Regions from separate parts of the Homo sapiens genome. Here regions 1 and 2 are each linked to region 3. The links are contacts of gene promoters, found by promoter capture Hi-C in blood cells and fetal thymus (Javierre and others, 2016). All regions are on one chromosome and are shown on one strand. The core of a region is centred on a gene start or on the middle of the fragment in contact, and the rest is flanking DNA. Distances in the headings are between cores, read along the strand shown. Region 1 overlaps ITGB1-DT (ITGB1 divergent transcript). Region 2 holds the start of ITGB1 (integrin subunit beta 1). Region 3 holds the start of EPC1 (enhancer of polycomb 1).

Region 1 (4,291 bases), core at 587-3,086, 640 kb after region 3:
AAAGCTAATAATAAAGATTGGAAAAGGACATATGTATGTATTGGACAAATCTAGCATTTCTTGAAAATTCATGTATTGATTCACTGATGACATATAAGCAAAGTTAAAGTCATCTTCAACCGTAAATGTTAATACTTATTCAGTAAGAGAAACAGCATGACTCAAGTCAATGGATTTAGGGACATTAATTTGGCAGTTTTAGGGCAAAATTCTAAGTGGTTGATGATAGTGAAAAATTGAATTGCCTTAAATGCCTAACAGTAGGGAACTTGTTAAATAAACTTGATGCTTTCATGCAATTATGTTTTCAGATAAAATCATGTTTTCAAAAACTATATATGGACATGGAGAAATTTAAATTTAAGTCAAAAAGATATGGTGGCAGAAACTGTTGACTTCCTACCCACACCACTTCCCTTCTCCTTCCTAACACCTCTTAATTTTGGTGGGCTTTCTATTCTCTGCACAGCAGTGTGCTTCAGGGGAGGCAGTCACCAGCCCTGCCCTGGGGAGTGAATCATCAGTGAGTGGTGAATGTGAATTCCCCTGGCTAGTGATCTTCTGAGTCCGGGGAGTATAATTCATTCCAGGCCAGTGAGGTGGATGAGAGTGGAGAGGCTTCTGGAAAAGCTTTCCTCTATCTTTAAAAGCAGGAAACAAAGTCATGCTTCCATTAAATGTTAGGAAAAGCTTCCCTCTATCTTTAAAAGCAGGAAACAAAGTCATGCTTCCATTAAATGTTAGACTCTACATGTGATAAAGCCACCATGCAGCCAGGCCTGAGGCTGAGCTGACAGGCCTGGGAATGTGGAAAAATGCAAAGGCCCCAGCTGATTGATCTGCTGATCTGTTGACTTATTAGCCTTGGAGGCTGCAGGTCAGTGACCAAGAGCCAGTTCAACAAACACCCACCCACTGCAAATCAGTTTCCACTACGGCTGATTTGCTGGATTTACTCGCTTCTTTTAACTATTTAGATATTGTTGACTGATTTTCATTTTGTCTTCATAAAAGCATTTAAGGAATATTAAAATTGTCTCAATTCTAGTTCCTTGTTGAGTAACTGAAGACTGACTTTTGATGAGTTGTCCAGCTAAATAACTCATCTTATTTCCAAACTTATTATGTGAGCTAATTTTTTCTTATAGTTTAAACCAATTGCATATTGAGTCCAGGTTTTCTCTTAATTACCACTAGAAGTATACTAATGGGATACATGTAGAATAAGAGAGAGAGAGAAATTGGGGGGAGGGGAGAGAGAGAAAGAATGAATTATTTCTGGGTTGTAGGATTGGGAATATAGCTGATTTATGCCTTTACTGTATATTCATCTTTGTATTTCTCTATTTTCTAAATTTTCTGTAATGAACATATATTGCTATTATGAACAAAGTGGAAAGTTGTTTGTTTTGAGACAGAGTCTTGCTCTGTTGCCCAGGCTGGAGTGCTGTTGCTCAACCTGGACTCACTGCAACCTCCACCTCCCTGGTTCAAGTGATTCTCATGCCTTAGCCTCCTGAGTAGCTGGGATTACGTGCGTGCCACCACACCCAGCTAATTTTTGTATTTTTAAGTAGAGACAGGATTTTGCCATGTTGCCCAGGCTGGTCTCAAACTCCTGGCCTCAAGGGATTCGTCCTCCTCAGCTTCCCAAAGTGCTGGGATTACAGGCGTGAGCCACGGTACCCAGCCCTGAAAGTTGTTCTTAAAAACTGGTTTGAGGGCTATAAAAGGTATGAGTGCTAATCTCAGAGGATTGTAGAATCATTGAGAATTGACATCTAGAGCTTAATAAAGTGGTGGCTGGGCTGGTGAGGCTACACAAACAAGGAGCAATTGAATCAATTCTAGAAGACTGAGTATGCGTAGGATGAGTAGGAAGAGGTGAGGCTTAGGACCTCTCGATCCATTGTTTGTGTTTGGTAGGGGAGGACTGAAAGGCCATATTTACAATATTTAGGCCAGGCTTGGTGGCTCATGCCTGTAATCCCACCACTTTGGGAGGCCAAGGTGGGCAGATCACGAGGTCAGGAGTTCGGGACCAGCCTGACCAACATGGCAAATCCCCGTATCCACTAAAATATAAAAAATTAGCCAGGCGTGGTGGCGGATGCCTGTAATCCCAGCTACTCGGGAGGCTGAGGCAGGAGAATTGCTTGAACATGGGAGGCGGAGGTTGCAGTGAGCCAAGATCGCACCATTGCACTCCAGCCTGGGCAATGAGAGCAAGACTGTATCACAAAAAAAAAAAAAAAAAAGCCACAATATTTATTGTCTCTTCCATGCATGATGCTTTACAAATACGTCATCTCCTTTCATCATCACAATTGTGAAAGTAGGTAGTATTATCTTCATTTTGTAGAGGTAAGAAGTGAAGCTCAAACGTGCACAGAAGTAATAAATATTGGACCTGTGATTTTAATGTACAGCTGGCATTAAATGTCGTGTGCAACACCTCTCACAGATGAGCTTACTGGAAGTGAAAATCAGAACATCAGAGCCAAAGAAAGGATTCTGACAAAAAGCTGTTGTGATTGTAAGTGACAGGAACCCAACTCGAAGTACTTAAGCAAAAATGGAAATTTATTGCCTTAGGTAGCTAGAAAGGAATGGAGTGAAACCAGCAAAAGGCTTGACTGTGCCTCGGGTGAAGGAAGGTGTAGACTGTACAAGAGGTATTGAAGCATCTTTTTCCACCTTAGGAGACAGCTTCCCAAGGCTGGAAAGAGGGGAGTGCGGAACATGCCTCCACCATACCACTGCCCACCTCCTGTGACCTCTGCAGCAAAACCTGAAGCCCCAAAGAGGCAGCTTCTCAAAGTAAAAGTGGAATGAAGGTCAGGTTGGTCTAAAAACCCATCCAACAATTTGTGGAAAGGGTTTACATCATTTTGTTATTTGTATGTCATTGCTTTTTGCATCATATTGTTTGTCCTTACAAAACAAATCTGGACACAGCAAGTTGTTCATTCGCAGAGAAAGAAAGCTTACTCACACTTCCTGTCATCCAGCAGCAAAGAATACTGACCACAGAGTGACCTTTAAGTGTAAGGCTTTAATGAGTATTAGGCTGAATGCCTGTTTTCCAACCTGGTGCAAAATATTTATATTTTAGAAATTGTGATTTTTAACATTACTGCAAGAAAGAGGGGCTTCTATTTCCTTTTTCCTCTATTTAGTCCCTAGATTAAGAATTGGCAATTTTTTTCTACAAAGGACCAAATTGTAAATATCTTTGACTTTGCAAACCATGTGATCTCTGTTGCAACTGCTCAACTGCCTTTGTCTTGCAAAAGCAGCTGTGGATGATATGTATGCAAATAAACATGGCTGTGTTCCAATAAAACTTTATTTTCAAAAACGGGAAGTCAGCCAGATTTTGTTCGCAGGTCTTGGTTTGCCCTAGATCACTGTTTTTTCCCCCCGAGTTTAAAATCATCATTTTTTTGTTGGTTTTAAACCCATGCCAGAGCAAGAGAACTTCACAATTTTCTATGGGTATACTGTGTTTTAGTTATTTGGATGATTGTCCAAAGAATCAGTCCACAATAGGAATTATTGTTACCTGTTTTGTGTTTCCGTTGGTTCCAGAGAGGAATAATCTTATCAAGTCATGTAGGTTAAAAAATTAAAATTAGTAAAACTATAGCAATAGAAAAATAAATTTAATGTTTTTAAACCTTGCATTTAAAAGGTAAATTTGGCGGGGGGCGGTGACTCACACCTGTAATCCCAGCATTTTGGGAGGCTGAGGCTGCTGGATCGCTTGAGCCCAGGAGTTCACGACCAGCCTGCACAACATGGCAATACCCCATCTCTACAAAAAAATACAAAAATTAGCTGAGCATGGTGGCGCACACCTGTAACTACCTTGAGGGGCTGAGGTGGGAGGACCCCTTGAGCCTGGGAAGTCAAGGCTGCAGTGAGCCGAGATGGTGCCACTGTACTCCAGCCTGGGTGGTAGGGTGAGACCTTGTCTCAAAAATAAATAAATAAATAAAATAAACGGTAAATTTGATTAAGAAAAAGAAAGATGCAAAGTGAACTGTGAGTAGATGGAGGGATCATAAATTTGGGGGACCAATAAATATTTTCCTCACTGTGGTGGGGAAATTGATAGGTGAAATAATAGAGTAGCTGTTATTTTAAGTCTGTAGGAATTTTTGCCCAATGACAAATGTGGAATTCAAAACCCGTTTATAGGTTGTGCCTGACTAGTTTTCTTTTTCTTTTCTGATTAATAACAATGTATTATTATATGTTTAAAAAATCTGGACTTACATAGCATCTT
Region 2 (4,359 bases), core at 1,437-3,936, 610 kb after region 3:
ATGTCCCCAGTGTCACTCCCAGAGTTAGGAAGAACACCAATGTAGAGCTACATTTTCATTCGTGATGGTAATTCGGGGCTGATTTAAATTAAATTATACTGACCAGAAAGCTGCCTAATTGTTAAAATTACTAAATCCAGTGACTTTCAGAATTGCTGATTCCATGCTTCTCATGTGCAGAATGTTGAGGGTATTAAAAAATAACTTTAATATAGAACTTTACATTAAGAAAATCACAAACACTTAAAATTGTAGGTTTAGGTCTGAAGTCAACACAGACGAGTTAAACAATCTATTTGCTTCCTGTTTACAGAATTAAAGTATTAACCACATTCTTTGTCCTTTTAACTAGCATTCTAATAACATCTTCCACCTTCATACTCAATTTTGGGATAAGTAAAATGACTTTCTCCCCAAATGCCTGTAATGAAAATACCAATGTTTTTTATTTAACACTTCACCATCTTCAGTCACTTATATAATATTGATCAATGAGTCAACATTATTTAAAAATATGAGAATTATAGTGAGACTCTAAGTCCTAACCCCTCTGGGCCTTGATGTCCACAAATGAACAGGTAACTGCCAACTGAAGTTCCTTAATCATTTCTAAAATTGGTCTACTGTATAACCTATCGTAAAGGACGTATGTGGTTTAAGAAAGGTGTCTAATCTAAATTCCTCTAGCATGTTATTTTTGTAGCATTAAAACTACAATTAAAAAAAAAAAAATAAAAAAACCTAAGGGCCAGGTTCAGGGGCTCACGCCTGTAATCCCAGCACTTTGGGAGCTCGGTGAGAGAGGACAGCTTGAGCCCAGGAGTTTGAGGCCAGCCTGGGCAGCATAGTGAAATCCTGTCTCTACAAAAAATAAAAAAATTAGCCGGGCACGGTGGCAGGCGCCTGTAGTCCCAGCTACTCAAGAGGCTGAGGTGGAAAAGTAACTTAAGCCTCGGAGGTTGAGGCTGCAGTGAGCTGTGATGGCTCTTCTGCACTCCAGCCTGGGCAACAGAGACCCTGTCTCAAAACAAAACGAAATAACCTAGTAATTCTACCCACCTAAGTTAACCATGTGGCATGTTGGCCCAAAGAAACCTTACCAATGATGTTACCAATTATCTTCCGAGATATTTTTAACATCTTTTTACTATAAAAGAAGGGCTGAAAAGGAGTCAATACTCATTGAGCATCTACTCTCAAGCTAAGTTTTTTACATTTTGCATTTGATTTTCAGAACTATAGTTAGGAAGGTTACTTGTGGTTTAAACGCGGACTCTGGAACTAGACCCCATGCCTTCTCCAGGAGCTCCTGATGACCACAGGCAACTTACTTTTGCTCCCTGTGCCTCAGTTTCTTCACTCGGAAAATGGGAATCGAAACAGTACCAATCTCATTAGAGCGGTTCCAGAATTAAATAATACATGTAAAATGCCTAGAGCTAAACTTGGCCCTCACTGTCATTATTATAAAAATGAATTATTAATGTAGATATTACTGTTCCTATTTCACAGATGAGGAAACGGAAGCTTAGAGAATGCAACTTACTAATGATCATACCAATGAGTGCAAAGTTTTGGACTCAAAAGCACGAATTTGATTAAATAAAAGTTACTTAGAGAGTAGGAGTCTCATAAATCCAATTTATGAAGCCTAAGAAATGACACGCGGTAAAATGATACTAGACACAGGCCGGGCTCTCAGGCTCGCGGACCGGGTCTGAGCACAAGCTGGCCATGGCCATGCGTCCTGGTCCCGGGGTGCCCGGCAGGGACCGGCGACTCTTGACGTTTATAAACACGGGGAAGTGGACTGCACTGCCGCCACCGCACCCCCGGTCCCCAGCGGCTCCACTAAGCCAACTTCTACCCGGCTCCCGCCGCCCCCGCCCGCGGCGCTGGCCCCAGGGCCGCCTCCTGGCAGCCGGAGGAGACCAGTCCCCGTCGCGGGCGCCGACGGCTGGCTCGACGCTGCTCCAAGGACAGCAGCTCGCGAGGGAGCGAGAGACAAAGGCACCGGACCCGTCCAGGGGAGCGCCGAGTCCCAAACGCCGAGCCCCGGGTGGCCTCGCTGGCTCCCACCTGCGCTTGCCCAGCCCGGCGGGAGACCGCAGGTGTCAGGGGCCGTTCGGGCCCGGTCCCCCGCAGCTCCGGCAGCCCCGACGTGACAGCGCCCAGGCCGGCGACCCTCACGTTCGGAACGCGGCTGGGCTGGCTCTGCGCCCGGGGGCTGCCAGCGCCGGGGACCCGAGGCGGGTGGCGGCGTGCGGACTTCCTCCTGGACTAGCCTGGAATCCTGCCCCAGCCCCCAACCGCTGGCGGCCGCCCCCGCCCCCGCCCCCGCCCCCACCCCCACGCCCGGCACAAAGGTCCCGGCGCGGCCCGGCCGGCGGCTTTAAGTGCTGCCGCGCACAGGAGACCGGAGGCCGCGGCCCGCGCTCCCACACCCGAGGCCCGCCGGCCCCTACCTTTTCCGCGCGGCGTCCGGGGCCCGGCGCGGTGGGCTCGGGCCTGCTGTTCCGCGACTCCCGCTGGGCCTCTCCCGCGGGCTGGCGGGGCCTCCCGGGTGTCGGGCGCGGCGGGTGGCGGCGGCTCCTCCTCCTCAGGGGCGGGAGGAGGGGACTCGGCGGCCCAGAGCCGCCCCCCGGCAGGAAACCAGCCGCGGCCCCGCCTCCTCTGCGCGTCTGATCCCGCTCCCGAGGCCGCCGCCGCCCTCTCCCTCCGGAAACGCATTCCTCTCCCGCCGCGTCAGCCCGGCCCGGGGCTAGGAGGAGGCGGAGGATGGGGCAGGAAGTGCGACCGGGACAAAGGAACCGGCTGCGCGGGAGCGCGCCTGAGGGAGGCCGCGGGGGGCAGGGCCGGGACTGCGTTGAGACAGTCGCCGTGCCTCAGTTTCCTCCTCTGCGAAGGGCGGGAGGAGTCGGACGCGCCCTAGAGCCCCGCGCGTTCCTGGTGTAGCCTGCTGGGCCCGTGTTCTTTAAGTTCCTCTTCCTCGGAGCCGCGCGTTCGACCCTCGCTCCCGTTTGTCCACTGATGTCCCGTTTCGAGCCCGGGAGATCCTGCATCTCGGAAGCCCCCTGAGTCCCGAGGCAAATCGGGACCGTGAGCCCCCCTACCCTGCAGGGCTCCATGGGGCCAAAAACCACGTGGTCCTTCTGGAAGGGAACTGGCTAAGCCAGGACTGCTTTTCTGGAGTGATAATGTGCTTGCCTGTGTCTAAGAGAAAGGTGAAGAATTGGGAAACCCATGGGTGTCACGAAGGGTGGTGAGACTGGGGAACGTTTTAGAAAACCTGGTGAGTTGCGTCCTGCTTTTGATAGATTTATCTGGAGGTACCTTTATGGGGAACAGGGATGAGAAGGAAAAGTTTCTTCCTAAGGAGTACAGTTTCTGTTTCACCTCTTAAAAAAAAAAAATTTGGAGATTGGGGCTGGAAACAACGTTTGAAAGAGAAGGAAACATTCATTATGAGAATGGCTGAACGCATGTCGATTCGATGATTGAAGTCTGTACCAGCCAAAATCATACTGAAACCCAGTAATTTAGTATATGCTACTGGCAAGCTGCTATCCTGGTAGCAGAAAATGCTGTGGGTTCCGCTTGGTGAGCTGCAGCACCCTGTTGGGAAAAGAGCTCAAAAATTACCAGATTTATGAAATAGAAGTGTTTCTCTTGCAGGAGATTAGGGACTGGAATGCCCATTTGGCTGCTGCCAATCAATATAAGAGAAAATGAAGCGATCACATCTAAGAAAATTTGCTCATTACTTACCAGCAAAATCAAAACTTGATTAGCCAATCTGAAGACCTCTAGGAAATGAGCACTATTTTTCCCACTTAATGGATGTTCAAGCTTAAGAGGCTAAATGATGTTCCTATATTAATATCTCAATGGTCAAACTGCCATTAGAACTCAACATTCTTGAATTTTAAAGGTATCGGTTTTACCATTGTTCAGAATTCATCAGAATTGGCCCAGTCTCAGCACAGAAAACTGTATAGTTCAAAAGCATAATTGGTCCGTGCCTGATTTGCACTACAATTTCCAGAATTTTTTTCCCTGTACGTGACTGGTGGAGGCACTAGCTAGTCTTTGCTACAAGAACATTATGAGATTTACATATGCACAACTCTAAACTAAATTAGTTCCTCCAGGACAATTTACTGAGCTTTTTAACACCACCGTCAAGCACTGTTGCAAGGACAGATAATAGGGGCTCAGATAATATCTGATAAATGAATAAATGGGTCCTTTTGCTCTCCCAGGACTGGGCTAGAGCACTTGACTAAACTGATGTGTGAGGTAGCAATTTGTGTACAGAAGTCATGAGTTTTGAGGAAAAAGAAATTAAAGAAACATGTT
Region 3 (4,653 bases), core at 1,264-3,763:
GCGCGGTGGCAAGCGCCTATAATCCCAGCTACTGGGGAGGCTGAGGAAGGAGAATCACTTGAACTCGGGAGGCGGAGGGTTGTAGTGAGCCGAGATGCTGCCACTGCACTCCAGCCTGGGCAACAGAGTGAGACTCCATCTCAGAAAAGAAAAGAAGAAAAATCTAAATTATTTCAGCGAATAAAAATTACCCGTAAAATTTAACAAGCACTGATACTTCATTGAGCTCAGCTCTGACTTCAGGTTGTAACTCTTGGGACTGTCCAAAGTATTCACAGAAGCAAGACTTAACTAAAGTCTAAAGTGTACTGTTGTGCTGTCTTGCTTTAATCAAGGCTTTCCCCTTCCTTGGCTGCTGAACAAGAATTACAAATTAATTTCCAGGGCAGGGTAAAACCAACACCCCAATACTTGAAAGTATTATCTGTAAAACTTAGAAATAAAAATAAAACCAAAAGACAAGATTCTGCAGTCACAAGTACTTTAATTTTTAAAAACAAATCACTTATTAAAAAATAAACAAATGGCCATGCTACTCTAAAGTTGATACAAGTAAAATAAATTAAGAGGTAGTGTCTCATGAGACAATGTGCTGAAAGTCAGTGCCCAACTAGACAATCTGAGCTACTACATACACTTGGCTTATCTGTAAAGTTAGATTTAAGACACTACTCTCAAAAGTAACATTTCACTGTCACAGCTATTTCACTTTAAAAGGTTAAACAACCCAAAGAGTTTAAACAGTTTTATTTCCAAAAACAACATTACAGAGCATAATTTCTACATTAAAAATTCTTACAGTACCAAGAGAAGTATTACAGTACAATTTTCCACAACAAAATTGTAGCACACAAATCCACGCGACTCCTGGACTTCCTTGAACTGTCAATACACTGCACCCTGTTTAAATGGCTGTACCTGAAAACCAAGGTATGCAATTCCTTAGGATTAGAAGTCATCAAGTTATACTGTCAAGGATCTGGGGGAAATGAGAGGAAGATTCTATTATCCTGGTGTCCGAACCCAACTTCCACAACAAGGTAAAGCCACAGCGATGGTAAAATGTCTATTAGTTGTCAACATTTACGTGCTGAAACCCACCCAATTTAGACATCTCAATATTAAGATTTCTGTGAATCAAGTCACTTAGTTTTAGTTCGGTTTTGAATAAGAAAGGATCCTCCTTCGAAATTTAGATCTATAAAAGTTACTTAAATTGGGTCTTTTCTCCCCCTATGTTGAGATACCAGAGAGCAGGAGAACTTAAATTTATTTTACAAATAGGTAAGGTTACAGGCTTCAGAAGAGAGAGGTACTCCAAACAAATCTGCAAGATATTCGCAAGGATCACAGAAAAAGTCAGGGATAGTGGTTTATTATCCTCCGACCAACTAGCTCTGGAGAGGGATGGATACAAACGTCCCAGAAAGAGGACACTGAAAGTAAGTCTTATCTTCTAGAAAAGTAAGTCGTCCGGGCAAACACGCTGCACCCTCGACATTTCCTTGCAGAGGGGGAGAAAAGCCTCATAGAGCAGCAGGCGACATGACATGCCCGTCTGAGGCTCCACGTGGGGGCTGCACTGAGCCCAACAAGCTTCCCAGACCATGGGGCAATCAAATTCCCCGACTGTGCACAGAACCTGCGCTCCCGGCCCGGGCAGCGGCGCGCAGGCCGCAGTGGCCCTGGAGCGCCACCCAGCGGCCCACGGAGAGGCCTGTAGGCGGGTCCTCCACGGCTCCCGACTCGCCGCACCCCCACAGCCACCCAGCCCGTTCCCCTCTCCGGATGCACAAGGCCCAACCCAAGAACTAAGACACAAAATGGCTGCCGGCAGCTTCGTCACGTGACCCCTTTGTGCCTTTCGGGCCCCCGAACTCCGCGGGACCCGGGTACAAGTGGCCAGGGTCAGCGGGTGGCCTTAGAAGGGGCCCCGCTGGGCCGCGGCGGCCGGGGGTCGAGGCTGGGGGAGGCGGGGTATAGGCCCGGCCGGCGACTGAGAGTCGGCGGCGAAGAGAAGATGGCGGCCATTTTGTGTGGGTTTGCTGCTCCGCCGCCGCCGCAGGCAGCAGAGGGAGCGGGCCTGACGGTGGGTCGGACAGGGGAGTTAACACGTACCGACTCCTCTTCCTTCTCCATTCCGGTGGGCATCTGCGGCACGGCCCTGTTTATCGAGGCGTATTCGTGCAGGTCGGGCAGATCCTCACAGCGGAAAACCGGCAGCGGCTTCGAGGCGTCTAGCGCCCGCGCCCGAAACGACAGTTTACTCATCTCAGGCGCAGCAGATACCTCTCCGCTCTGGGGAAACGGCCCCGGCCAGCGGGATCATGGAGAACCGGGGGTTCGGTCCCCACTCGCCAACCGCTGCCGGGGACTTGAGGGGCGGAGCGCAGAGCCCGCCGTCCGGGCACTAACACCAGCCGGGAGGGTGGGAGGCTGTGCCGCTCCGCTCCTCTCTCGCTCGCTCTCTTCAATACGCCATGGCCAACATGGCGGACATTAAAACTCCACTGTGCGCTCTTCAGCCAACCCCAGCCATTCCCCACACTGCATCGCGCAGCGGCGCGGGCACGCGGGCGGGGGGAGGGAGCGCGGGCTCGAGGCCGGCGCCGGCACGAAGCGCGCGTCCCGCCAACCCCCGGCACCCGCCGGCCTCGCTTCCCGCGCCTCGCTGCTCCGGGCCCCCGCCCTTCGCGGGTCCGGGGGCGGACAGGGCGGACTGGGCGCTCGGACACCGGGCGCCGGCTCTTGGGTCGTGCTCTCCTGCAGCGCACACGCTCACTTTCTCACGCTCGCTCCCTCCCGGCGCCGCTTTCTGACGGGCGAACAAGGTGCGGGAAAACTCTCTCCACCAGCACGCCGCCGTTTGGAAAGGCAGCTGGGGAGAGTGGCAGGCGGGGCTCGGGCCCCGGGCACCTGGGGCTCGGAGGGCTCGGACCTCTGGGGTGCTCGCCAGCGGCTGCCCCGGGGCCACGGCCGCCCCCACGGGGCTTCGGAGGGGCGCTCCAGAGGCGCCGCGCGCCGCCGTCTGCCGCGGGGGGCGAACGCACAGCCTAGTTCCCGCGGCGCCTTAGGTCTTTACGATAAAAATACAAACTGAATTAGGGGCAGATGCTACTTTGAGTAAACTTTTATCAGCAGTTATTTTTATGTCCTAATGCAACTTTGGATTATAATGTTTTATAGGCACCGCATCAAGTCATTGATCCGTTTCCCACGCATTGGGCTTAATATAAATGATAGGTATCCTATTCTACAAAGTAGATTTTTTTAAATCCTGCATTTTCATCTACACATATTTACTTTTTAAATAGTAACTGAAGCAAAGGAAATTATTACCCACCACTATAACATTTAAAAGCAAGATCTACTTCAGAATTTAAAGCCAGTTCTTTATATCTAGCTCATGATTCTGTACTCAAAGAGACTGCGGCTTCATCATAGCCGTGGGTTCACACTTTCATCATTTGTCCTCTGAAAAACTTTGTAACATTGAATCATATAAAGACCTGTCGTACTCCCGCCAAACAAAAAGCTGAATTATTAGATTTAGATGGATATGATAGATGGGTGGCATCGGTTTATATTACACATGAAAATGGGTATCCTGAGATCTCTTCGTTGTTGTTGTTGTTAATAGGGAAGATTGTTGGGGTGGGTTTAATAAATTGGCAGCCAAATTTCAATTCGAGTTTCAATTTGTATCTTAGTGCACAATTTTGTATCTTGTGCAACAAGATACAAAAAGATACAAAAATGTTTTGAGTTGCTTTTCTCCCTGGGAACTACGTAGTAAAAGTAATCACGCTCCTTAAATACTGGGCTTGATATGAGCTGTCACTAGCTTAGGGCACACAGGCAAACTGCTAGCCTCCAGGCTGGTTTAGCCAGCTCCCGCGGGGTAGGGAGAAAACAGGACGGATTGCAGTTCTCCAAAATTATACTTAAACTCCGATATTGGCAGCTCACTTAAGTGAGGCATAAGGACGTTCACCTGCATTTCCTACACAGAGACCGTGCCTTTATTCATTCAATGAGTATTGAGGGTGTGTATTGAGCCCTCATAGCCTTCCAAGTCAGCTTGGCACCCACAGGGCTCCTGGAGGAGCTTACACAGTGGGGAGAAGGACCCGCGAATGGCAACTGCCACACGGCGAGCTAAGTGTTATGGTGGAAGCCCAGGCCACTGTGGGAAGGGGCAAGAGTGGCGCCCAACCCAGGAGAGTAGTTCTAATGAAGTAGCAAGGGAAGACTTTTTGGAAGAGATGATATCTGAGTAAAATTATGTAGGATAAGTGTGGGTTAACTTTGCAAAAAAAGTAAAAATGAAGGGAAGAAAGGTATCTTAAGACAACGGTAGCGACGTATCCACAAGCTGAGTCATTAGATAGCAGTCACTTTCTGGGAGCCTCAAGAATTGCCAACTTCACTGTGGAATGACACCTGTTTAGCCAGGTTTAACAGTTCCGAAAATACTGGCTGAATATTATTCTGACAGCCCTCTCCAGCCTACAACATTAGGTTCCTGAAAGTCCTAGCAGTAGAATTCATAATTGAGGAGCCTAAGATTTTAAGAACAAAATAGAGTAAGTCAAGAGTGAACCAAGGAAATGAATTATTTCTACCCTCATTAAAATAACAGTAAACAACAAA

Evidence for each region. Contacts are between HindIII fragments. The CHiCAGO score rates a contact against its expected background, and 5 or more counts as called.
Region 1: a fragment that was not itself captured here is called in contact with the fragment with the promoter of EPC1 in region 3 in 1 of 17 cell types (M0 macrophages); the score reaches 5.1 in M0 macrophages.
Region 2: a contact is called between a fragment that was not itself captured here and the fragment with the promoter of EPC1 in region 3, in 2 of 17 cell types (activated CD4 T cells and naive CD4 T cells). The highest score is 5.4, in activated CD4 T cells.

What each region holds. Positions count from the first base shown.
Region 1 is chr10:32,982,921-32,987,211 of GRCh38, forward strand. It overlaps ITGB1-DT (ITGB1 divergent transcript), which reads left to right. Exons shown (of 3, transcript NR_184020.1): 2 at 2,703-2,837. Among named protein-coding and RNA genes, the nearest start is that of ITGB1-DT, 2.5 kb to the left of the region's middle. The HindIII fragment of the contact is 2,296 bases long and covers 689-2,984 here.
Region 2 is chr10:32,955,680-32,960,038 of GRCh38, forward strand. It overlaps ITGB1 (integrin subunit beta 1), which reads right to left and starts at 2,551. Exons shown (of 16, transcript NM_002211.4): 1 at 2,466-2,551. RefSeq lists silencers at 1,249-1,410, 1,804-2,253, 2,324-2,903 and an enhancer at 3,074-3,123. The HindIII fragment of the contact is 2,322 bases long and covers 1,526-3,847 here.
Region 3 is chr10:32,344,645-32,349,297 of GRCh38, forward strand. It overlaps EPC1 (enhancer of polycomb 1), which reads right to left and starts at 2,514. Exons shown (of 14, transcript NM_001272004.3): 1 at 2,119-2,514. The coding sequence starts at 2,271. EPC1-AS1 (EPC1 antisense RNA 1) reads left to right here and starts at 2,720. Exons shown (of 2, transcript NR_104163.1): 1 at 2,720-2,831. RefSeq lists silencers at 1,545-1,824, 2,495-2,964, 2,975-3,104 and enhancers at 2,045-2,144, 2,165-2,224. The HindIII fragment of the contact is 3,163 bases long and covers 1,595-4,653 here.